Linked DNA regions of Homo sapiens: regions 2, 3 and 4 are each linked to region 1. Evidence: promoter capture Hi-C in 16 types of primary human blood cells and fetal thymus (Javierre and others, 2016). All regions are on one chromosome and are shown on one strand. The core of a region is centred on a gene start or on the middle of the fragment in contact, and the rest is flanking DNA. Distances in the headings are between cores, read along the strand shown. Region 1 holds the start of GNB3 (G protein subunit beta 3). Region 2 overlaps CHD4 (chromodomain helicase DNA binding protein 4). Region 3 overlaps ZNF384 (zinc finger protein 384). Region 4 overlaps C1S (complement C1s).

What was found. The method cuts DNA at HindIII sites, captures the fragments that hold promoters and counts their contacts. A CHiCAGO score of 5 or more calls a contact.
Region 2: a contact is called between a fragment that was not itself captured here and the fragment with the promoter of GNB3 in region 1, in 13 of 17 cell types (activated CD4 T cells, total CD4 T cells, non-activated CD4 T cells and 10 more). The highest score is 16.4, in activated CD4 T cells.
Region 3: a fragment that was not itself captured here is called in contact with the fragment with the promoter of GNB3 in region 1 in 12 of 17 cell types (naive CD4 T cells, activated CD4 T cells, non-activated CD4 T cells and 9 more); the score reaches 14.8 in naive CD4 T cells.
Region 4: a contact is called between a fragment that was not itself captured here and the fragment with the promoter of GNB3 in region 1, in 1 of 17 cell types (activated CD4 T cells). The highest score is 7.1, in activated CD4 T cells.

What each region holds. Positions count from the first base shown.
Region 1 is chr12:6,839,222-6,844,623 of GRCh38, reverse strand. It overlaps GNB3 (G protein subunit beta 3), which reads right to left and starts at 3,699. Exons shown (of 10, transcript NM_002075.4): 1 at 3,591-3,699; 2 at 3,280-3,366; 3 at 3,000-3,038; 4 at 1,548-1,654; 5 at 1,387-1,450; 6 at 1,099-1,261; 7 at 926-992; 8 at 646-847. The coding sequence starts at 3,336. It overlaps P3H3 (prolyl 3-hydroxylase 3), which reads right to left. Exons shown (of 15, transcript NM_014262.5): 15 at 4,777-5,327. The coding sequence ends at 5,163. The HindIII fragment of the contact is 12,557 bases long and covers 1-5,402 here.
Region 2 is chr12:6,598,652-6,604,649 of GRCh38, reverse strand. It overlaps CHD4 (chromodomain helicase DNA binding protein 4), which reads left to right. Exons shown (of 40, transcript NM_001273.5): 3 at 2,153-2,274; 4 at 2,475-2,690; 5 at 2,884-3,002; 6 at 3,120-3,361; 7 at 3,597-3,724; 8 at 3,981-4,116; 9 at 4,255-4,433; 10 at 4,638-4,877. Among named protein-coding and RNA genes, the nearest start is that of CHD4, 5.7 kb to the left of the region's middle. The HindIII fragment of the contact is 915 bases long and covers 2,612-3,526 here.
Region 3 is chr12:6,665,346-6,670,739 of GRCh38, reverse strand. It overlaps ZNF384 (zinc finger protein 384), which reads left to right. Exons shown (of 12, transcript NM_001385745.1): 11 at 1,551-1,709; 12 at 2,625-4,263. The coding sequence ends at 3,026. Among named protein-coding and RNA genes, the nearest start is that of ING4, 4.9 kb to the right of the region's middle. The HindIII fragment of the contact is 755 bases long and covers 2,526-3,280 here.
Region 4 is chr12:7,065,796-7,071,543 of GRCh38, reverse strand. C1S (complement C1s) reads right to left here. Exons shown (of 12, transcript NM_001734.5): 7 at 5,574-5,727; 8 at 4,911-5,026; 9 at 4,427-4,505; 10 at 3,773-3,901; 11 at 3,014-3,088; 12 at 512-1,689. The coding sequence ends at 893. Among named protein-coding and RNA genes, the nearest start is that of C1S, 8.0 kb to the right of the region's middle. The HindIII fragment of the contact is 335 bases long and covers 4,286-4,620 here.

The DNA of each region.
Region 1 (5,402 bases), core at 2,450-4,949:
CATAGTGGGAACCCATCTCTACACAAAAATCAAAACATTAGCCAAGCGTGGTCACACGCATCTGTAGTCCCAGCTACTCAGGAGGCTGTGGTGGGAGGATTGGTTGAACCCTGGAGGTTGAGACTGCGGTGAGCTATGATAGCACCACTGCATCCAGACTGGGCAACAGTGTGAGACTCTGTCTCCAAAAAAAGGAAAGAAAGAAAGGGCTAGGGAAGACTGGGCACAGTGGCTCACATCTGTAATCCCAGCACTGCACTCTGGGAAGCTGAGGTGGGAGGATCACCTCAGGTCAAGAGTTCAAGACCAGCCTGGCCAACATGGCAAAACCCCATCTCTACTAAAAATACAAAAATTAGCCGGGCATGGTGGCGCACACCTGTAATCCCAGCTACTCAGGAGGCTGAAGCAGGAGAATTGCTCCAACCCAGGAGGCAGAGGTTGCAGTGAGCCAAGATTGCACCACTGCACTCCAGCCTGGGCGACAAAGTGAGACTCTGTCTCAAAAAAAAAAAAAAAAAAAAAAAAAATACAGTAAGAAAGGGCTAGGGAAGCTATGGGAGGGGCAGAGGATGTGTATTGTATGTGTTGTGGGGAGTGTCGGGGAAGGAGTTGGAGTGAAGCTGGGGTGGGGGGTGCACTCACACAGATGGCGTTGATGTCCGACTCGTGGCCAGTGAAAGTCTGACGGCAGGTCCCCTCTCGCACATCCCAGAGCTTGGCACTGGCATCACAGGCCCCCGAAATGAAGAGATTGAAGTCAGGAGACACAGCCAGGCTCATGCAGTCACCCGTGTGTCCCACAAATACAGTCTTCTGCTGCCCAGTCTCAATGTCCCACAAGGCACTGCCAAAATGGAGGGAGACTGTTAGAGAAAGGCCGGGCCCACTCCCAAGCCCCAGCACCAGCAATGTTCAGCCTCACCACGTGGTGTCCCCCGAGCTGGTCACAATATTGTTGTCATCCAGGAAGCGGCAGCAGGAGAGATAACCTGGAGGCGGTTAGAAGGACAGTGCCCTGGCTGCAGAGCCACAGCCCACTGGAAGCCCAGGGTTCCCTGAACCCCTCAGGAGGGGAGGAGAGGGTCTCTCCCTCACCTGTGTGAGCAGAAAGCTCCCGGCTGACCTTGACATTGCCCTCACGGGATTTGAGGTTGTAGATGGAACACATGTTGTCCAGCCCCCCACATGCCACAAAGTTCCCTGATGGGGCATAGGCACAGGTCATGACCCAGGAGGAGCGCAGTGGGATGGCGTGCACCTGCAGGGAGGGTGGTTTGAGCAGAGATGGGACCGGAGCCAAGCTCCCAGCTGGGCACAGGAGGGTAGGCATGGCGCCCTTAGGAAGGATGCAGTGGTGGAGGCTCAGGGAGGCAGGGCTGGTACCTTGTTGGTGGTGTAGCTGTCCCACACGATCAGCTTCCCATCTTGCGAGGCACTTACCAGCAGCCTGGGGAGAGGGCATCCCATATCATGCAAGCCTCCCCTTCCCGCCTTCCTCACTCCCGCTCTCACCCTCCCATTCTCGGTTCCCCCCCAAGCCTCACTTAGAATCAGTGGCCCAGTGCATGGCGTAAATCTTGGCCAGGTGTCCCCTTAACGTCCGCCGCGTCCGCATCTGGACTCGTCCCACCACCTCTAGGCCAGACACCAGCTGCAGAGAGAGGGGCACTGAATATCAGGGTGAGCAGGTTACGTGCCCAGATGTCTGTCACTGCCACTGATCTATACAAGTTCCCGCTCTGTGCCAGGCTCTAGGTCAGGCCCCCAGCCTTAGAGAAATAAGTCTCTGCCCTGGAGTGTCTTAGACTGATGTGGGAAAGAGATGCATGCATGGCCAGAGGTGTGTTGCTTGTAAGTGTTTAACAAGCACCTCTCCAGTGTTGGTGAGGAAGGTGGGAAGGTGATTTCCACGATACGAATACTTGCACTTTGACCAGTTTCCAGCTGCCAATGTGAGGTCATTGGAAACAGATTTGGGAAGAGATGCACAGAGCTGGCTCTCCCAAGCCGAGAGGAGCCTGCTTGCACCCACCGCTGCAGCACGGCTAGCTTTTTAACTGGGTGCCTGGGGCATCACCATGACCCTGAACTGTACCTCCTGAAATCTGTGGTACTATGCCCCTTGAGCTCTAACCACATTTTAGACTTAGGCTGGGGGTCCAGAGTGAACAGACTTGATTTGCCATCACTTGCATTGCTATCTTTTTTTAAAAAGTTAAAAGCAATTTTTTTTATATTAAGAAGAGATCTCACTATGTTGCCCAGGCTGGTCTCAAACTCCTGAGCTCAAGTGATCCTTTCACGTCAGTCTCCCAAAGGGCTGGGATTACAGGCGTGAACCACTGCGCCCGGCCTGCTTTGTTATCTTGGGCAAGTTGCTTCACCTCCCTGAGTCTGTTTACTCAAGGTGTAAAATGAGGCTTATCATAGCACCTACCTTACAGAGATATCATGAAAATTCAATGAAATCAGGTATTTATGCAGCTTAGCCCAGTATCTGGCTCATAAAAAGTGTTCACTATTAACATATTTAATCCAATCTAAGATGCATCACTAAGAAAGAAAAGATGCTGTCAATTCTAATTGAAACAATGATCCATTGCTGAATGCACCTTGATTTCAGAGATGTCAAAATGTGAAGAAATGTGCATCTTAGAATTGACAAAATACAGCATAGAAAACTAGCAGCTAGAGTCTACAAGGGCTTTATAATTTACAAAGTACTATCGCTTCTTCATCTTCAAGGCCCTGGGAGGGGGCTGTGGTCACTCTTGTTCTACGGATGAGAATAGGAACCGTGTCCGCATCTTTCGCATCCAATATGGTGCCTGGCTCAGAGCAGGTCCCGCTAAAATGTTGGTCGAATGAATTAATTAATGGGTTTCCTCACTCCAAGGACGTGCTGTACTAATGCTCGGAGCAACGCGCTATTGCGGGTCGGGGAGCTCCCTTCCCCTCCCCCCATGCCCTGCCTTCCGGGGGACAGGGGGTCTTACCTCTGCCAGAGTAACGTCAGCACAGGCTTTCCTGGCATCCTGCAGGGAAAGCAGACATCAGGGGAGCAAGGGCGAGGTGGGGGTGGCAGGTGCATGGGCCTTCAGGGCAGGTTGGTCTTGGGGCTCTGGGGCTTGGGGGTCTCAAATATGCGAACCAAGTTTAGAAAGTCCCTGGTCACTTCTAGTCACTCAAGAGCAAACCCAGCCCCCTCCCCCTGGGCCACGCTCCTCATGTCCCCAGCTGTTTTCTGGGGCCCCAGGGGTAGGGCTCTGGAGTTACTGCAATCTGCTTCTTGAGCTGCTCCGCTTCCTGACGCAGTTGCTCCATCTCCCCCATGGCTGACAGGTCGAGGGGTCACTCTGGCTCCTGCCAGGAACATGGGGTCGGTGTTGAGGAACCCCCCACCAGGCTGTGCTTCTGCCCTTCGTGCCCACACCAGACTCCAAGACACAGGGAAACGACTGGGTGGCTGCACCCTCTCCCCAGCTAGGCCCTCCAAGTTTGAGGTCCTTTGCGTCCAGCCCCAGCCTGCCTGAGCCCTGCCTGCGCCCCAGCCCAGGAGAGCAGAGCCCAGGCCAGCTCCCTCTTACTTGGGCTCTGGCTGGACCTCGGCCGGGTTTCCAGCTCCGGTTCCTGGGAGCCTCCTTACTCCCTCAGCTGCGACGCCCGCGCCCGCCCGTCACCTGCCCAGGCTCTGCTGCCAGAGGAGCTGGCCTGGCCTGGCCTGGCCCCGACCGGCGGGGGGTTGGGGGGGCCTGACAGGGAAGGGTAGAGCCAACCACAACGTCAGGCAAATGAAATCAGCTGGCAGGGGTGGGGGGAAGGGGTGGGGGGAGGGAGGGAGGTGTACGGATTCCAGAGAGACTTGGGCCCAGCCGGGAGGAGGGTTGGGGGCAGGAGTGTGGGGCCATAGAGAGGGGCAGCCCCCACCACAAGCCCTGAGAGAGGAGGGGGTGAAGGGGTGCTTCCCTGGTCAGTCTCTGCAGGCAGAGATAAGAGCATCAGGCCCCACAGGATTAGAGCAAAGCTGTGAGGATTAAGGGTTGGGGTTTGGGAGGGGTGCAAAGGAGCAGACAACTACAGCTCCAGTGGCCCCCCTGGTCCCGGCCCCCATCCATGGTGATGATCTTGGCAGTCAGGGCCACTTAGCAACCAGGCCAGGAGGTGGGATATAAGGGTGATAGATGGCCCCATTGTCAGTACCTCAAACTGTGCTCCTCAGCTCAGGGTGGTGGGGAAGAGGGTTTGGTGAGTATGGGAGGGTACAGGCAGGAGCTGAGATTAGAAAGGACTGATCTGGATAATCCTTCTTCTCGACAAACCCCAACCAGCTGCCTCTGGGTCTGATCCTGTTGGGGGAGAAAGGTACAGGGGACCCACAGAGAAGGATGGACAGGTCTGCCCCTATTGTGGGCGGGCAACGGATTTCAAGTGGAGGGAAGGCCCGCACGCTGCTCCCAGGCTGGGGTCTGGCCCCCTCCTTGCCCTCTCGAGGCTGTGAAAGCAGGGGTCAGAGAGAAAGCAGGCGGCCCTAAGTCTCAGCAAAGCTCAGAGAGGGAAGACAGGGCTTACACTTGGAGGCCTAAGGAGCAGCTGCCAGGGGCTTGGGTCATTTGCATGAGGGGAGCAGGTGGCTGAGATTTCCCTGACAAATCACAGGCTCCAGGCGCCCCGCCTCTGGGAGGCCCAAAGACACCTGTCTCCTCCCAGGCCAGCCAGAGCCACCCCCACCTCCAGCCATCACAGAATCTGTGATACACTTGACTGGCCCCTGGCTGAGAGATCTTCACGACCTTTATTGCACAGACTGGGAGAGAGGAGCAGGGTTATACCTCCCAACCCCACCATCCTCTTCATTTAAAGCATCAGCCTCCTCCCCTGCCATTTCTGTTCAGGGAGGCACAGTGTTCCCCATCTGTCCAGGGCTGCAGGTCCGGCAGCGGGGCCCCGTCCCAGCTCCCCAGGCCTGGTGAGCTCCAGGCTAGCCTGTGCACTGTCCTCTGAGTCCAGGCCCTTGTAGGTCCCCAAGATGGTGGGGGTGCAGGGACAGAGAGCTTGCTGTTCTGCTCCTGATGTCACACAGGGGCTTCCTGTGTGTCCTGGCATCAAGATGGCCTTCCACAAGTCAAGTGGCCACATCCTCAAGGAGCTGGCTCAGCCACTCACAGCTCCTCCCGAACCCGAGGTGCCCTTCCAGTCTTGTCTTGGACCCTCTGGTGCCTGCGGCTAGGGGGCTCTGGGGAAGGGTCTTTGCTGGGCATTTCTTCCTCTTCCTCTTCCTCCTCCTCCTGTGACTCCTGCAGCAGTTCTTTGGCTTCTATCCACTCCTGGGGTTGGGGAGGAGAGTGTGGCCCATTCCCTGCACCCACCTTCCCTGGGTCAGCTCAGCCCCTGACCCTCAC
Region 2 (5,998 bases), core at 1,820-4,319, 240 kb after region 1:
CCCCTTTGCCTCCATGGGTTGTCTTTGTCTCCACTTCCAGCTTTTATGGGGGTGGTGAGATGTAGCTGATGGGGGTTGGGGGTTGACTTGGGGATTGGTGGGGAAAAGTCCTTAAGAAAATGATTCTTTCTGGTGAAATCCAGGCTGATGTTGCATTCCCAAGGGGGAATGGGAGGGGCGTTCTTGTGCCTGGTCTTATTCTGGGCTGAGAAGCAGGGAGGCTGATGGTGCTTTGTCCAGCCTAATGTCTCATTCCCTAGTATCTGTCTAGCTCAGGAAGTGGGGAGCCAGAGACATTTTAGGGCTAATTTTGGGGGTTAAGAGCTAAGAACATGTCAGGGATTGAAGGAGGGATATTATTTTCTTTTTTATTTTTGAGATGGGGTCTCACTCTGTCGCCAAGGTTGGAGTGCAGTGTGCGATCTTGGCTCACTGCAACCTCCGCCTCCCGGGCTCAAGCGATTCTCCTGCCTCAGCCTCCTGAGTAGCTGGGATTACAGGCACCCACCACCATGCCTGGCTAATTTTTGTTTTTTTAGTAGAGACAGGGTTTCACCATGTTGGCCAAGCTGGTTTCGAACTGACCTCAAATGATCTGCCCGCCTCAGCCTCCCAGAGTGCTGCGATTACAGGCATGAGCCATTGCACCCGATTGGGATATTCTCTTCTACCACTGTCTAGGTCCTGCTCTGTTTTTTTGTGCAGACATTCCCATATGTTGGATAGGAATCTGGGTGGGAGTGGTGAGGAAGCTGAGCTTCAGAGACTTCTTGTGGGCCTCCATTCCTCAAACTAAATCTTTTGGGTATCAGAAATTTGGGGAGAAGGTTGTATGCGCTGACCACAAGTCCACTGAGCCTTTGTTAAATCTCAGCTCTGATGATTGAAAAAATAATTATGATTGAGGGAGTGATCGAGTTCTTCTCTTAGTATTACCTTCATGTTTGTCTCGCTTTCCTTGGGTTTCCTTGCTTAGGATGTTAGGGTGGGCTCTTGTGAACTGTTGTCATCCCAGAGTAGGTGGCATTTGGACCTGGGGCCAGGTAATTTGGGGAGGCTTCTATGAGGGCAGTCTCCCCCCCCGCCACCCCACCTCTCTCAAACCCACCCCCTCCCCTGCCACTTCCTGTCTGTCCTATGTTGGCAGCTGGGTGCCCTGGGCTGGCTTCTGCGGTCAGGAGCCATTTTCCCTCTCCTCAGTGGGTGAGGCACTCCCTTCTTCTCTCCACTCCTTTCTCTACCCACCCCCCTTTGGGCGGGGGTGGCTTGGGAAGAGGGAGAGAGGAGGGAGGAGGGAGTCGGAGCCAGTGTGAATGTCTGTTACAAAGGAAGCTGCCTCCTGGTCTTCTCTGTGTCCCTTCCCACCTATCCTTGCCCAGGAGCTTTCAGTCTTACCCAGGCTTTGTGTGTGCCTCCAGCCAGGGGAGGAGGTGGAGCCAGATGGGAGGAGGCTTGCTGGGGGGCGGGTGTAGGGGAGATGGTGACAGCTGGGCTGATTCGGGCCCCTAGGGAGAAGAGGCTGCTGACCCAGGAGAAGCTGAGGAGGAACATTAGGGTTGGAGATGGGGAAAGGAAATTGTATTTTAGAAGTGGGCATGAGATTGAGCTGGCACCTGAACCTAGGACTTGGAGGTTCTGGTTAATTTGAGCAGTGATGACTTCAAAGTGGTTAGAGAAGGGTGTGGTTTCCGAGACCCCTGAACTGATCCTGTTCTGGGAAGGTATATTCTATAGTTTTTGCCTTCTGAGTAGGATCTTTCATTCTCATTCCCTGGTTTATAGAATAACTTGGTGGCCAGTTACAGGAGGCCTAAATCTAGTTCTCTTACTTGGTGAACTCTGAGCAGCTCAGTTCAGCTGTACTGGTGAACATCTAGAGGACTGGTAGGAACGGGAGAGAGGAGGCAGGGGTCTGGACAGCTGCCCGAGGTGGGCCTGGTCTGGCCTGGCAGGCCTATTTCGGGTATATACAGCTCTCTCTTTGTCTGTTTTTGTCCTGGGTATCAGCTTCCTCCTGTACAGAGTATAGCAGTTCTCTTCAGAGGAATCTGGGACAAGAGGTGGGGAATAAAGTCTAAAGCCTCTGGATTAGGGCCTAACCTTTTGCTATTGATCTTTTCCCTGCCTACCACTCTTTGCCAAATATATGTAGAAAATGAAGAGGACCCAGAAGAGGATTTGTCAGAAACAGAGACTCCAAAGCTCAAGAAGAAGAAAAAGCCTAAGAAACCTCGGGACCCTAAAATCCCTAAGAGCAAGCGCCAAAAAAAGGAGGTGAGTGGGTGACTGAATGTTACGGGGAATCAGAGGAAGAAGGGAGGAGCTCTGAGAAGGGTTGAAGGGCTGAGGGCATTTGTTTCTTTCTCAGAAGTGGTGGGCCATGTTCTGGGGATGAGCCTCAGGGCTGTCCTGAGGTCAGCATGTGTGTAGCATGTGTGTGTCTGTCTCCCTCTTCCCCCCTTGCCCTGCTCCAGCGTATGCTCTTATGCCGGCAGCTGGGGGACAGCTCTGGGGAGGGGCCAGAGTTTGTGGAGGAGGAGGAAGAGGTGGCTCTGCGCTCAGACAGTGAGGGCAGCGACTATACTCCTGGCAAGAAGAAGAAGAAGAAGCTTGGACCTAAGAAAGAGAAGAAGAGCAAATCCAAGCGGAAGGAGGAGGAGGAGGAGGAGGATGATGATGATGATTCAAAGGTGCCTGGACCTCCATCCTCTTCTTTGTACTGTTAAACTTTTGTCTTTTTGTTTCCTAGACACCTTACTGCCCTTTAGAACACTTTCTCTTCTTTTCCTCTTAACTCTGTTACTCTGATTTTTCCACACAAATTTGCTTAGCAAGTGTGGGCACTAGGTGGCAGGTACTTACTTGACTTTGCTCTTTCTGCAGGAGCCTAAATCATCTGCTCAGCTCCTGGAAGACTGGGGCATGGAAGACATTGACCACGTGTTCTCAGAGGAGGATTATCGAACCCTCACCAACTACAAGGCCTTCAGCCAGTTTGTCAGGTAAAACAGAAGGGGTTTGGGGAAGGGGGAGGAGAATCTTTCTGTTCTCTCTTCTTACTTCTCTTTCTTTTTTTATTCTTAAACCTTTCCCTCTGCTCTTGTGCATTTCTCCACCAGACCCCTCATTGCTGCCAAAAATCCCAAGATTGCTGTCTCCAAGATGATGATGGTTTTGGGTGCAAAATGGCGGGAGTTCAGTACCAATAACCCCTTCAAAGGCAGTTCTGGGGCATCAGTGGCAGCTGCGGCAGCAGCAGCGGTAGCTGTGGTGGAGAGCATGGTGACAGCCACTGAGGTTGCACCACCACCTCCCCCTGTGGAGGTGCCTATCCGCAAGGCCAAGACCAAGGAGGGCAAAGGTGAAATGGGGTTCAAATGGGAGTGGGGGTGTCTAGTGTGGGCTTAAGATGTCAAAGACAGCATGGGAATGCTGGTCTGTCAGCCCTAAGGTAGGAGATAGGAGGGAGGAATGAGTCTTGGATTTTGGAGGGAAATTTGGGAATCTGAATGTGGGGAAGCAAGCTTAGGTGGAGAAGATTTTATTTTCCCCATCTTTGGTCTTGTGGTATATATTTGGATATATCCTGATTTTAGGTCCCAATGCTCGGAGGAAGCCCAAGGGCAGCCCTCGTGTACCTGATGCCAAGAAGCCTAAACCCAAGAAAGTAGCTCCCCTGAAAATCAAGCTGGGAGGTTTTGGTTCCAAGCGTAAGAGATCCTCGGTGAGAGCCCAGCCCATCGCTTTAGGGAGGGTGCCATGTCTAATAGAAAGGATGTGACCTTCTATCAGAACCTGTCCTTCATAGTAGGCACGTAAGAATGTGGGGCGTTTCCCACAGAACAAGATGAGACTAGGCTCCCTGTATAACGGTGCTTGCTGGGATTCTGGTGTCCCCAGTGAGAGAGTACTCCCCTCTCTGCCACTCTGTCCTTCCCCTTGGCTTGAACGTCTAACCTTATTCTTTTTCATCCTGCCAGAGTGAGGATGATGACTTAGATGTGGAATCTGACTTCGATGATGCCAGTATCAATAGCTATTCTGTTTCTGATGGTTCCACCAGCCGTAGTAGCCGCAGCCGCAAGAAACTCCGAACCACTAAAAAGAAAAAGAAAGGTGTGTTTCTCTTCTGTATATTTGTGATGGGATGAGGTGGGAGTGATTGGGGAAGAATCTCCCTAAGGAGATAGGGGTCGGGGGGTGGGGGGAGGTAGTTTTTTTCCAATAACTGGGCTTTCCCTCTTCCTTGCCCAGGCGAGGAGGAGGTGACTGCTGTGGATGGTTATGAGACAGACCACCAGGACTATTGCGAGGTGTGCCAGCAAGGCGGTGAGATCATCCTGTGTGATACCTGTCCCCGTGCTTACCACATGGTCTGCCTGGATCCCGACATGGAGAAGGCTCCCGAGGGCAAGTGGAGCTGCCCACACTGCGTGAGTGTCTGGCCATTGTGGCCCCTTGGAACCCATGAGAAGAAGGGTGGGACAGTAAAGCTCTTCGGGGCCTGGATGGAAATGGAAATGCTGGTGCTGCGGGTTGTGAGCTTTGGGAAGCATTCAAAGGAATGATGGGCACTGGCTTCAGACTGCGGTGGGCGGGTGGGGGTAATAATCTGAATCTGTGGTCCTTTACTGCAGGAGAAGGAAGGCATCCAGTGGGAAGCTAAAGAGGACAATTCGGAGGGTGAGGAGATCCTGGAAGAGGTTGGGGGAGACCTCGAAGAGGAGGATGACCACCATATGGAATTCTGTCGGGTCTGCAAGGATGGTGGGGAACTGCTCTGCTGTGATACCTGTCCTTCTTCCTACCACATCCACTGCCTGAATCCCCCACTTCCAGAGATCCCCAACGGTGAATGGCTCTGTCCCCGTTGTACGGTGAGTGACTGATCTCAGCCGGGGCAAAAAATGGGAAAGTGTAGTCTTTTCTATGTAGGCTATTGTGAGGCTGGGGTGCAGGAGAGGAACTATGAGCTTTTCAGCCCTGAGAAAGGTATTCTCCTTCATCCTATAGTGTTGGGATACTTTTGTCCTGGGAAAATATAGGACTAACTTCAAACTGAGGAGTTGATGTTTTGCCAGCTCTCTTAAGAGGAGATGAAGCAATGTTCTTCTAGCTGAGAACATTTGTCCCTGTGTTGACACCCTGCCTCAGGGTCTTGGTAGCTTACAATGTTTTCAATTTTTTTGTTAAAAAAATTTTTTTTTTTGGAGACAGGGTCTCATTCTGTCATCCGGGCTAGAGTGCAGTGGTGCAGTCATAGCTCATTGCAGCCTCCAACTCTTGGGCTCAAGTGATCCTCCTATCTCAACCTCTTGCTGAGTAGCTAGGAGTACTGGTGCATGCCACCACATCCAGCTAATTAAAAAAAAAAAATCTCTGTTGAGACAGGGTCTCACTATGTTGCCCAGGCTGGTCTTGAATTCCTGGTCTGAAACCATTCTGCTCCCTTGTCCTCATTAAGTGCTGGCATTACAGGTGTTTACCACCATGCCAGCCAGTTTAGAATGTTTAATAGGGCCACTTACTGCTTTAGATTGCTTAAGGGAGGAATTCTGTGCTCTAAGTCTGTTGATTTCCTGATTGTTCTGGCTTATTGTTAAAGTCTAACTACTGGCTCTGTTAAGCAGATAGGAGTGATGGTGGCACGCAAATCCTGGACGATGTCCAGAAATGGAGAGGGAATTCTATTACAGGTTGAGCACCCTAATCCAAAAATGTGAAATCCAAAATACTTCTGGTCCCAAGCATTTCACATGAGGGGTCCTCAACCTGTATTTTCTCCCTGGAGGAGTCCTGGGATTAGATTTTATTTGAAATGAGATCTTTTTTTATTTTTTTGAGATGGAGTCTTGCTCTGTCCCCCAGGCTGGAGTGCAGTGGGGCAATCTTGGCTCACTGCAAGCTCTGCCTCCCAGGTTCAAGTGATTCTCCTGCCTCAGACTCCCAAGTAGCTGGGACTACAGGCGCATGCCACCACGCCCAGCTAATTTTTGTA
Region 3 (5,394 bases), core at 1,654-4,153, 170 kb after region 1:
ACAAGACCTTGAGTCTGAGACATGGGGCCATTTGAATAGTATCGTGGTTCTCAAATGTTTTCAGGACTCCTTTACACTCAAACATTATTGAGGGACCCAAAGAGTTTTTGTTTATGTGGGTAATAGCTGTCTACATAGACGTTGTAAAACTGAAAAACCTGAAAAATATTTATAATAGTAATCTGTTTAGAAAGAACAAAAATAAACCCATTGTGTGTTAACATAAATAACATATTCCAAGACCCTCCAAAAACAACTGAGTGAGAAGAATGGCATTATTATACATTTTTGCAGGTGTCTATTTTTTATTTTTGGGACAGGACCTTGCTCTGTCACCCAGGCTGAGTGCAGTGGTGTTATCATGGCCCACTGCAGCCTCAGCCTCCCGGTCTCAAGTGATCCTTCCACCTCAGCCTCCCAAGTAGCTGGGATTCTAGGCATGCACCATCACACCTGGCTGTTTTTTTCATTTTCGTAGAGATGGGGTCTTGCTATCTTCCCTAGGCTGGTCTCGAACTCCTGGACACAGGCCATCCTCCCGCCTCAGCCTCCCCAAAGTGCTAGGATTGCAAGCATGAGTCACCGCACCTGGCACAGGGGTCTTTAATGTCTTAAGCTAGAAGATGAGTAGATTCTCAGATCTGCTGCATCTGGCCTATTGTGTTATCACACATCATGTAACCTCTGTAAGGGTTACATGTAAAACATAAGGCACAATGAAGCCACTTGAAATTTTGAGGGGAACAAGATTTCAGTTAGGTTTTTCATCTTTGTGTTTGTGTGTGTGTGTGTGTGTGCGCGCGCGCGTGTGCGTGTTTGAGACAGAGGCTCGCTGGGTCACCTAGGCTGGAGTGCAGTGGTGTGATTTCAGCTTACTGCAACTTCCCAGGTTCAAGAGAGACAAAGGCAAACATTGTCTTATTATTTTGAAAAGATTTGGCTGGGCGCGGTGGCTCACACCTGTAATCTCAGCACTTTGGGCGGCGGAGGCGGGCGGATCACCTGAGCTCAGGAGTTGGAAACCAGCCTGGCCAACACGGTGAAACCTTGTCTCTACTAAAAATACAAAAAAAATTAGCCAGGCCTGGTGGCATGTGCCTGTAGTCCCAGCTACTTGCAGGCTGAGGCAGGAGAATCGCTTGAACCCGGGAAGCGGAGGTTGCAATGAGCCGAGATTGTGCCGCTGCACTCCAACCTGAGCGACAGAGTGAGAGACTTCATCTGGGAAAAAAAAAAAAAAAGAGTTTTGACCCTGTGGGCCCCCTGTGAAGGTCTTAGTGTTCCCTAAAGATCCCCATGCCTCATTTTAAGAACCACTGGACTGGTGAGACGGGCATAAGCTGTCTTGGGATCCTGGTATGTGCTACATGAGGTATGCTTCCACCCTTAGCCTGTAGCTTCTCAAGTTTCATTTGAAACAATTTCTACTTTCTTCAGATAGAGGGAGAAGCTGGGAGGCCTGACACCTACCTTTTTGCTTTCCATCGAGGTCAAGGGGGCAGGAGGAAAGAGTACAATGTATTCATTCTGGTTTCTCCCAATTTTCTCAGTCCCACAGACGGCAACACAACAAAGATAAACCCTTCAAGTGCCACAACTGTCATCGGGCGTACACGGATGCAGCCTCACTAGAGGTGCACCTGTCTACGCACACAGTGAAGCATGCCAAGGTGTACACCTGCACTATCTGCAGTCGGGCATACACATCAGTGAGTGCTCCGTTTCTTCTCTCCTTCCTCATAGTCCTCTAAGAGTACAGTCCACTTCACCCCATTTTCTGGGTAGAGATCTGTTGCAGTGAATACCCTGCCTCCCTAGCTCCAACTTAGCAGAACAGGTAAATATTCAGAAATTAATTAGACCCATTCTGAGGAATTTAGGGGATGCCTGATCTCCTAATCCTATAGAGACGCATAAGCTGTAATTCTTCATTTTACTTAAACATAAGGCAAAATAAAGCCACTTGAAATTTTGAGGGGAGCTGGATTTCAGTTAGGCATTTTCTTCTTCTTTTTTTTTTTTTTTTCTTTTTGAGACACAGTCTCGCCCTGTCACCCAGGCTGGAGTGCAGTGGTGTGATCTCGGCTCGGCTCACTGTAACCTCCACCTCCTGGGTTCAAGCGATTCTCCTGCCTCAGCCTCCCAAGTAGGTGGGATTACAGGTGCATGTTGCCATGCCCAGCAACTTTTTGTATTTTTAGTAGACATGGGGTTTCACCATGTTGCCCAGGCTGGTCTCAAACTCCTGACCTCAAGTGATCCACCTACCTCAGCCTCCCAAAGTACTGGGATTACAGGTGTGAGCCACCGCACCTGGCCCAGTTAGATATTTTCCATGAGACTCCAGAAAAGGTTGTAAAGTTGTTTCATTCAGGGGTCTTTGAAAAAAATAGCAGCTCATTCCTTTGCCAGTTGAATGTTGAGTGACTTCTAAAGGTTCCTCTCTTTTTTTTCTCAGTAGTGAGCCACTGAAAGTGCTACTTGAGTTTTGCTCAGTCTTGGCTCCAGAAAACCAGTATAAAGCTTACTCTGCTTACAGCAGAATCAGAGCCTGGGGTGCTAGTTACAAGTAATCTCTTTTCCTTCCTCTTTATCCCTCAACTTCTTTTTACCATCTCCCTCAGGAAACATACCTTATGAAACATATGCGCAAACACAACCCGCCTGATCTTCAGCAACAGGTGCAGGCAGCAGCAGCAGCGGCAGCAGTGGCCCAGGCCCAGGCTCAAGCTCAAGCCCAGGCTCAGGCTCAGGCTCAAGCCCAGGCCCAGGCCCAGGCCTCCCAGGCATCACAGCAGCAGCAGCAGCAGCAGCAGCAGCAGCAGCAGCAGCAGCAACAGCCACCACCACACTTCCAGTCTCCTGGGGCAGCCCCCCAGGGTGGGGGTGGTGGGGACAGCAATCCCAACCCTCCACCCCAGTGTTCCTTTGACCTGACCCCGTATAAGACGGCGGAGCATCATAAGGACATCTGCCTCACTGTCACCACCAGCACCATCCAGGTGGAGCACCTGGCCAGCTCTTAGAGATCCGTGCTGCCACCCACTGGGAAGAGGAAGAAGTAGTCCTGGTGTCTTCTTTCTCCAACTCTTGGTGGGAAAAGTCCTTTTCTTCCTTGACAGGCCTTGGCTCCATCTCCTTGGGCCTCTGTCACGGCTTTCCTTCACAGGATACCATCCTTTTTCTGAACTCTTCTTCAAAAGGAACATCAGCCCTCCTGATTGCAAAGGAATACTGAGCTGATGGTGTCATCCAGCAGCCTCCCCTCCCAAGCAAAGCTTCTAAAACTGGGGGTCGGTGCTCAAGGGAAGGATTTGCTATGACCTCATAGAACCTTGTCCAGTGTGGCCACTTACCCTATCCTTACCCTCCTTATCCTCAAAGTTTGGGCTGATGTAAGACTAGAGGCTGGCCCTCCCAGATAACAGAGAAAAGGGAGCCCCAAATGCAACCAGCCTCTTGTTCTATTCTTGCCTGCAAAAGAACAGAGGTTTCTCAAATGCCTCAGTCCCTGAGAGCCATTTCTTCCCCTACATCGTCTCACTTTGCTTCCTATTGACTGCTGGTAGAAGGAGATTTGGGGTAGGGGCTAGACCTCCTTTTATTTGAAGGGGGCAAGGGCTGAGATGTGGTCCCCAAGGGGCCAGAAATTCCCAAGTTGGTCACAGGTGGCTTAGAAGTGTGTGTTATGGTTTTACGGATTTCCTTGAAGCCTCTCTCCTTCTCTGCCTACAAAGACCCTATACTCTCAGTCTCCCCAACCCACCCCCAAGGAGCTGTGGGAGGCTTTGTGTTATCTGTGAAACTCCAAAACAGGGGTGTTGCGGAGAAGGGAGAGTTCAAGGCAAACGCAAGGACTGGACTTAGCTCCCTAGGTGCCACAGTCAGATGCCGGACACGGATTTATATATAAATATATATATATAAATATATTATACTCACTCATCACGGCCATCTTTGTTGTAACCATTTCTGTGTTTATAAATGCATTATCTCTGAGAATTTTCATATTTGATGTTTTGTTTATTTTTGTCCTTTTTTTCCCTCTCTCCACCCCTGTCCTCTAGCCACAGCATTTTTCTTTTTGTCTTTTTTTTTTTTTTTTAAATCATGGCAGATTTCAGAGGAAAGGAAATTAAAAAAAAAATCAGGAAACCAGTTGTTATAAAGTAATTTAAAAATGAAGAAAAAAAGAAAAAAACTTATGTACAAACCAAGGGGTGTTTTTAGAACATTGTATAGAAATAAATTCATGTAAAAGGATCAGAGGCAGTGGAGCTACTGATGTGAGCGAGCATGCGGAAAAGGTATTTGGGGAGATGTCCAAGAACAGTACTGAGGATTTATACCAGAGTGTGTGTGTGATGAACAAGTGCTTGTGTGATGATGCCCCATTTGTGCAATTCTCCAGTCATGGAAGGGTACAGTTTCATGATGTCTCCAGTGAAATCCTGGTTTATGAGGACTTCTACATACACATTCTGTCATGGGGATTGCATTGCCTAAATATGTGAGAGCAAGGCTTTGGTTATGTGTTAACAAAACAGCTAAGCTCCCTATGGAAGAAAAATGGAAGCCTCTTGAAAGGACCTACACTCCTGCCTGAGTCTGTGGAAGAGGGGCTTGCAGTTGGCAATGTGTATACATATGTGTATTTGTTACCTTGTGGAAATCATAACCGGTTAAGGGGTGCAAGATTGATTTATGCAGGAGAGCTGTAGTACTATGGAGTAGAATGTGGTCATGAAACCTGGACTTCAGCCCTTTGCCTACCATCAACCAGTGTTGGCCAGGGTGCTTCTTCAACTGTTAGTGAAGGGATTGGACTAGATAACTCTGAAGATACCTTTTTTGAGAATTAAGTAACTTGCTTTAAGGCTGGGTGCGGTGGCTCACGCCTGTAATCCCAGCATTTTGGGAGGGCGAGGCAGGCAGACTACTTGACGTCAGGAGTTCAAGACCAGCCTGGCCAACATGGTGAAACCCCATCTCTACTAAAAATACAAAAATTGATGGCCGTGCACGGTGGCTCACGCCTGTAATCCCAGCACTTTGGGAGGCCGAGACAGGTGAATCATGAGGTTAGGAGCTCGAGACCAGCCTGGCCAGTATGGTGAAACCCCGTCTCTACTGAAAATACAAAAAATAAGCTAGGCATAGTGGTGGGCGCCTGCAATCCCAGCTACTCAGGAGGCTGAGGCAGGAGAATCTTTTGAACCTAGGAGGCAGAGGTTGCAGTGAGCCAAGATCGTGCCATGGCACTCCAGCCTGGGCGACAGAGTGAGACTCTCTCTCAAAAAAGTAAAATAAAAATACAAAAATTAGCCAGGTGTGGTGGCACGCGCCTGTAGTCCCAGCTGCAGGCTGAGGCAGAAGAATGACTTGAACCTGGGA
Region 4 (5,748 bases), core at 3,204-5,703, 230 kb before region 1:
TCCTCCCAACTCAGCCTCCTGAGTAGCTGGGACTAAGGCACGCACCATCATGCCTAGCTAATTTTTATTTTTTATTTTTGTAGAGACAGGGTCTCCCTATGTTGCTCACACTGGTCTTGAATCCCTGGGCTCAAGCAATCCTCCCACCCCTGCCTCCCAAAGTGTTGGGATCACAGGTGTGAGCCACGCACCACATGACATTTAATGAGCTTCTTTTTTTTCTTATTTTTCTTTTCTTCTTTTTTTTTTTTTTTTTTTTTTGGCCAGGTAAATATTAATGAGTTTCAAAAGCAGAATGTGATGCCTTACACTGGCGATCTTCATACTAACCCACAATATTCAGTAAATCTCATTTGGAAGAGAGAAGAAAAGCTGAATTCCCTGTTTTCGTGACAATTAAATTAAATATTAGTTGCTGGATGCCCAATTTCAGTGACATAACAGCCTTCTCATCCCATTCCCCTTCTATAATTCTGAGGGTTTGGTGTGGAATGAGGTAAGTCACACAAAATTTGCTTATAAACATCCTTTATTGTACATAGACAGTGGATACTGAGAATGATCAAGTAAATGGAATTTTGAACAGGTAAAGAGGAAACAAAGAATTAAGGTATCCCTGTGGAATAGTGCAAGAAAGGAGTGCCCCACCCATAGTGTTATCTACAATAGGTACTCCGGGGAAAGGACCCCAAGGAGTCAGACCACAAATGTATGACCAGCACAATTCTATGATCAAACTCTACCTCTAGCAAGGCGTCTCAACAATCAAGTTCTATTTAAATCATTCGCTCGTGTCTTCTTTCAGTCATGATGAAATAATGAGAATATCATAAGGAACAGAAGGTAATGCATTGGTCACCACCCTTGGAGAGGCTGGTGGGATGTATCTGGATTAGTCCTCACGGGGGGTGCTATTTTCCTGCATAGTCTTCATTATCCAGTCAACATAGTTCTTTACCCGTGTGTAGAGCCCATAGGTCCCACACTGGGGCCCCCAGGACACCAGGCCAGCTGCGTAGAATTTGGTCTTGTCATTGGGATCCTGTACAGCAAAGGCCCCACCACTGTCCCCTTTACAGCTATCCATGCCCTTCTCTCCTCCAGCACAGATCATGTTAGGAGTGAAAACATAGGCCTCTGCATCTGCTGTGGGTTTCTCCACTTTCACTTCTTTGCATTTTCTTAAAGGAGCTACAGGTAACCTTGCCGCCTTGAGGCGAACAGCACGATCTCTCTTCTCTGTTCGGCCCCAGCCTGAGATCAGTCCCAGGTCCCCATCCATGAGGTTGTAGTCGGAAGAGGTGCCTGGTAGGCAGATGGGAGAGACGGTGGGTCCCATTTTCACTGGGTCTTTCAGCCGCACCAGTGCAATGTCATTATCAAAATTGGTTCGTCCTTCTGGGACTTCCAGCAGCTTCCATCCCGGATGAATAAACACATGCTCAGGAGTGAGCATCTTGGATTTTGCCAGCCGTGAGGTCTGCACTGAGGTGGACCCAACATACATTGTTGGCTCCCTGTTTCCCTCCACAACATGAGCAGCCGTCAGCACCCAGTACTCATTAATGAGCGCTCCACCAGCCCATGGGTTGTCAAAGAAGACTTGCCAGGGGAAGTTTTTAATATCTGCATCGGATCCTCCAATTATCCTCTGTTTTTCTTCAAAGGGTTCTCTGGGGACTCCACAGACTAGGAAGGAATAAAACAACACAGGGAAGGAGGAAGAAATGATGCTGGCTTCCTGCAAATCCTCCAACCACTCACATAATGTTACCTGCTAGGTTGCAGGATTCTCTAGTACAAAATAGTCAACCCTATTTGGTCAACAATCTCAATACCTGACCCACTCTGGCCTTACCTAAACATCCCGCTTTGCCGATGTCATAAGCTGGCTCATGGGAGAGCTCAGTTAAACGGAGGCAGTGTGTGAATCACTGAGTCCAGATGCACTAATGCCTCACACTATCCACAGTGCGACCCACAGCCCCCCTGGAGGCAGGGGTCCCCTTTGCACCTCCCAACTCGGCACATGAGGCCGGTGCCCAATCAAGAGCCAGTGCTGGAAACCCTTTTCTCACACAGATGGTGGAGGAGGAAAGATTTCTGCCTTCTTCAGATGCCCAGATCAAACTTTAATCACCTTCTTTACTGGAGTCCTAGTTGCACCTGAGTCCCTCCTAGTAAACCACAGGTCAGCCTAGGAAGTAGAGAGGGGTCCCTTCTTTGGCCCTGACCTCTCACTCCCAGTGACTGGTGCCATTACCATTCAGTTATACTAATAACTGAATTCAAGTGAAGCTGCTTACTTAAATCCCTTACTAGACAGCCTGGAGGGACTCCAAGTTGAGCACAATGGGCTGTGAACTTAGACAGACCTGGGCTCAAAGCCTGCCTTTGCCACTTGCTAACTCTGTGAACTTGCACCCCACCCATTCACATTTGACATTGGTCAGATAAGACCAATGACACCTAGCTCACAGGGCTGTTATACGGACACGAATGAGATAATAAATGCAACAAATCAGCTCAGTCTTCAGCTTTCAGTACCACCCAGGATGGTTATTATCCTATTGGATTTGCCTCAGCCTTCTGCTACCCAACTCTTATCTTCCTCATTCTTTGAATTCCTCTATATCTTGCTGCCCTATAAACTTTTAATATAATAACTAGGCTATTTAGCTAGACTTGTTTCTGAGTGTTGATTACTCACACACTCTCAGCTTTCAGGCCCTGTTTTTAGCAGTTCTGTATCTTCTCACTGCAGCTACATTACCAGACACCAACTGTCGCTGGCTGACGTTTCTATTTCCTTCCAGTTGGCCTGGCTTCAGTGCGGCTGAGGAGGTTCCCCACGGCCCTGGCAGCCCACGGCACAGTGATACTGCCACCTCACTGAGCTGGACTCTGGCAGGTCACTGTTCAGTCCTTTCCCAAGAGGATTACAGTTGCTTTCAGAAGGTGACTCCCAGTCACCCATGGCTATCATCTCTCCCCAAGCCTCAGCCCTCCTTACCTGGAACACATTTCGGCAGCTCCGGGCCCAGCACCTCATTCACCCAGCTCCCGTTACCAGCACAGTGATACTCCCCTGGAATAGCACAGAGAACACAGGCCACACTCACCACCACATCTTCCTTCTTCCATTCCCCCCTCCGACCCCAACACCCTGCCCCGTTCCTTCAGAACCTCAGCTCGTCTAGGATTCAAGTAGTAAATCAGATTAAATCAGCCAGAAAAAAAATATCTTCCTCCAAACAATCCCTCAGGCCTCTAGCCTGCCAGGGAGACAAAGGGAACATCTCCAAAGCAGAAGGAAAGAAGGCATCGGGAAAGTGGCGAAATAAATACAGAGCAATGCAGAGAACGTATTAGGGTCTCATTCAGCCCTGCACCTAGCATGACCAAAGCCTCTACATCAAGAAAGCCAGTCAGTGTAGTTTGGTGGCTTAAAGCTGAAGGCATTGCTCCTGTGGGTTTTACATGAAATAACTGGTCAAAAGGTGGGTAATCCCATGAAATGGATGTTGTAGGGGAATTCCTGCTGCAGCTGTGAACTCAGTTGGTGACCTCTATGATTCCCTGAGGCTGATGCTCCCCTGAACTTGCCCTGCTCCAGATGAAAACTGTATCTTTGGACGAAGCCAAGGGGATGAACAATGTCTGTCCTATCGCCTTCATTTGTCTCCAAACTCTGTCTCTGGCACAGATTATGCTATCCACCCTCCAACACCTTCTCACTCTCTCTCTCTCTTCTCCAGTAGAAGAAACCTACCACCTCCTCCATTTTCCATGTAGTAATATGGCTCCTCACAAGTGTAGCGGATGACAGAACCAAACAAAGTGCTCTCTGGGTCTTCAACTTTACCATTCTCAATGGATTCAGGAATGCCACAGTCCACAGCTACCAGACGAAGGAAGGAGAGCGATGGTCAGGACAGCCACTTCCTCCAAGGAAGAGTCATGGGGCCAGGTTCATCCTCACTGCTTCCCCACCCCATATCCACAGGCACACCTGGGATGAACCTCCCCACACCAGCCTCTCTGTGGCCATCCTCCCCAACTGGCATCTCTCAGCTCTCTCACCCGCTGAGATGCCAATTCAGATGGCCCCATGAAAGCCGTAGTGAAGAGCCTGGTTCTCAGTGGTTGGTGAAGGCCCAGTGGAAGCCACAAATGCACCCACGTGGGGCTACTAACTCGACCTATCCCATAGCCCCTTTCTTGGAAAGAAACATGCCGATCTAGTTGGCCTGGGACCAGATGCGGGGCTGGGACTAGAAAAGCTTCCATGACTGGCTTCCCTTCAAAAACCCAACCCACTCCCTCACATGCCTAAGAGGAAACCATGCATTTGAATTTTGATGTGCTGATCTTTCCATTCTCTCTGAGAGAAAAAGAAAGACTTCCACTTTGAAGAGACACATACGTTGACATTTCAGTTTGGAATTACTCCACTTTCCATTGCTTTGACAAGTCGAATAGAAAGATGTTGCACCAACACGTCCCTGGAGAATAATAAACATCACCACTTATTTCTGAAGAGAGATATGGGAAACCAAAATCAAAACTGGAATTGATCTCTGGCCTTGGATCAATGAGGAGTCCTCACCACAAGAAGCTTGGGAACATCTTAGCAGACCTAAAGCACCCAGGAGATGAGGCTGACAGAAAGCTTTGCCCCAACGTGTCAACTCCCCTTCCTCAAGAAGACTGAAGGCAGAGAGAATGCCAAGCTGGCCAGGCAGCTCCATGACTCACAAGGGAGAACTACAGATCTTAAGCTGTTGTGTTTATGGGAAAGGTGTTATACCTTGATCACACACATACATTGGGTAAACAACTGGACAATTTCAGTCCGCTCATCCTGATCTGGGGCCAGGGACTGGGGAGAAGCCAAGGTGGTACTTTACCTCCACAACTTCAAACCCATCCAGACAGGTTATCTGCACCACATCTCTAAAGACATATTTTGCCTTCGCAGGCTCCCAAACAGAATTGGGAGTGTCTTCCTTAGGGCAGGGCATTGCTTGAAAGAACAGAAGTTGGGACAGGAGGAAAAAATTACTAAATAGTTGAAGACTCTCATTCTATTTACATCATTCTCACACTTTCTAAAATCGTCCAGTTGTCCTCAATCCTGATGCTTAACATTCCAATACAGCAGATGTCTAAAATCATATGGCATTACCAACTAACCACCCGCAAGCTGTCTGCAGTCTCAGGTCTAGTTAAAGGATTACTAGAGGTTGAGGCATTTCTAGCAACCGTTGACTGGTTTAGATTTTCCTGAAGAAGTGAAGTATCTCAGGATTCTATCAGAACAACAATCTATCTGTTTTTTAAATTATTGTTGCTTTGTTTTTGTTTTGTTTTAGAGACAAGGTTTTGCTCTGTTGCCCAGAGTGGACTCAAACTCCTACTTCCTGGGCTCAAGGGATCCTCCTGCCTCAGCCTCCCTCGGTAGCTGAGATCACAGGTGCTTCCAGTGTGCCTGGATCATCTACCTGCTTTGATCCCACATTGTTTGGGGACTTTGGTATCACCAACCAAAGAGGCACTTCTAAGTTACTCACGATCTCCATGATAGCGAAGTTTCCAGCCCTTTTTTTGCCCTGTTAGATCAGTTTGGAAGATGATATCAAGAGCATTACTCTTGGTTTCAATATTTAGAGGCCCAGGGAATCCATGACCACAGTAAGGACCAAATTGCCGATCTCCTGCAACAAACTGAACAAAATGATGAAATCA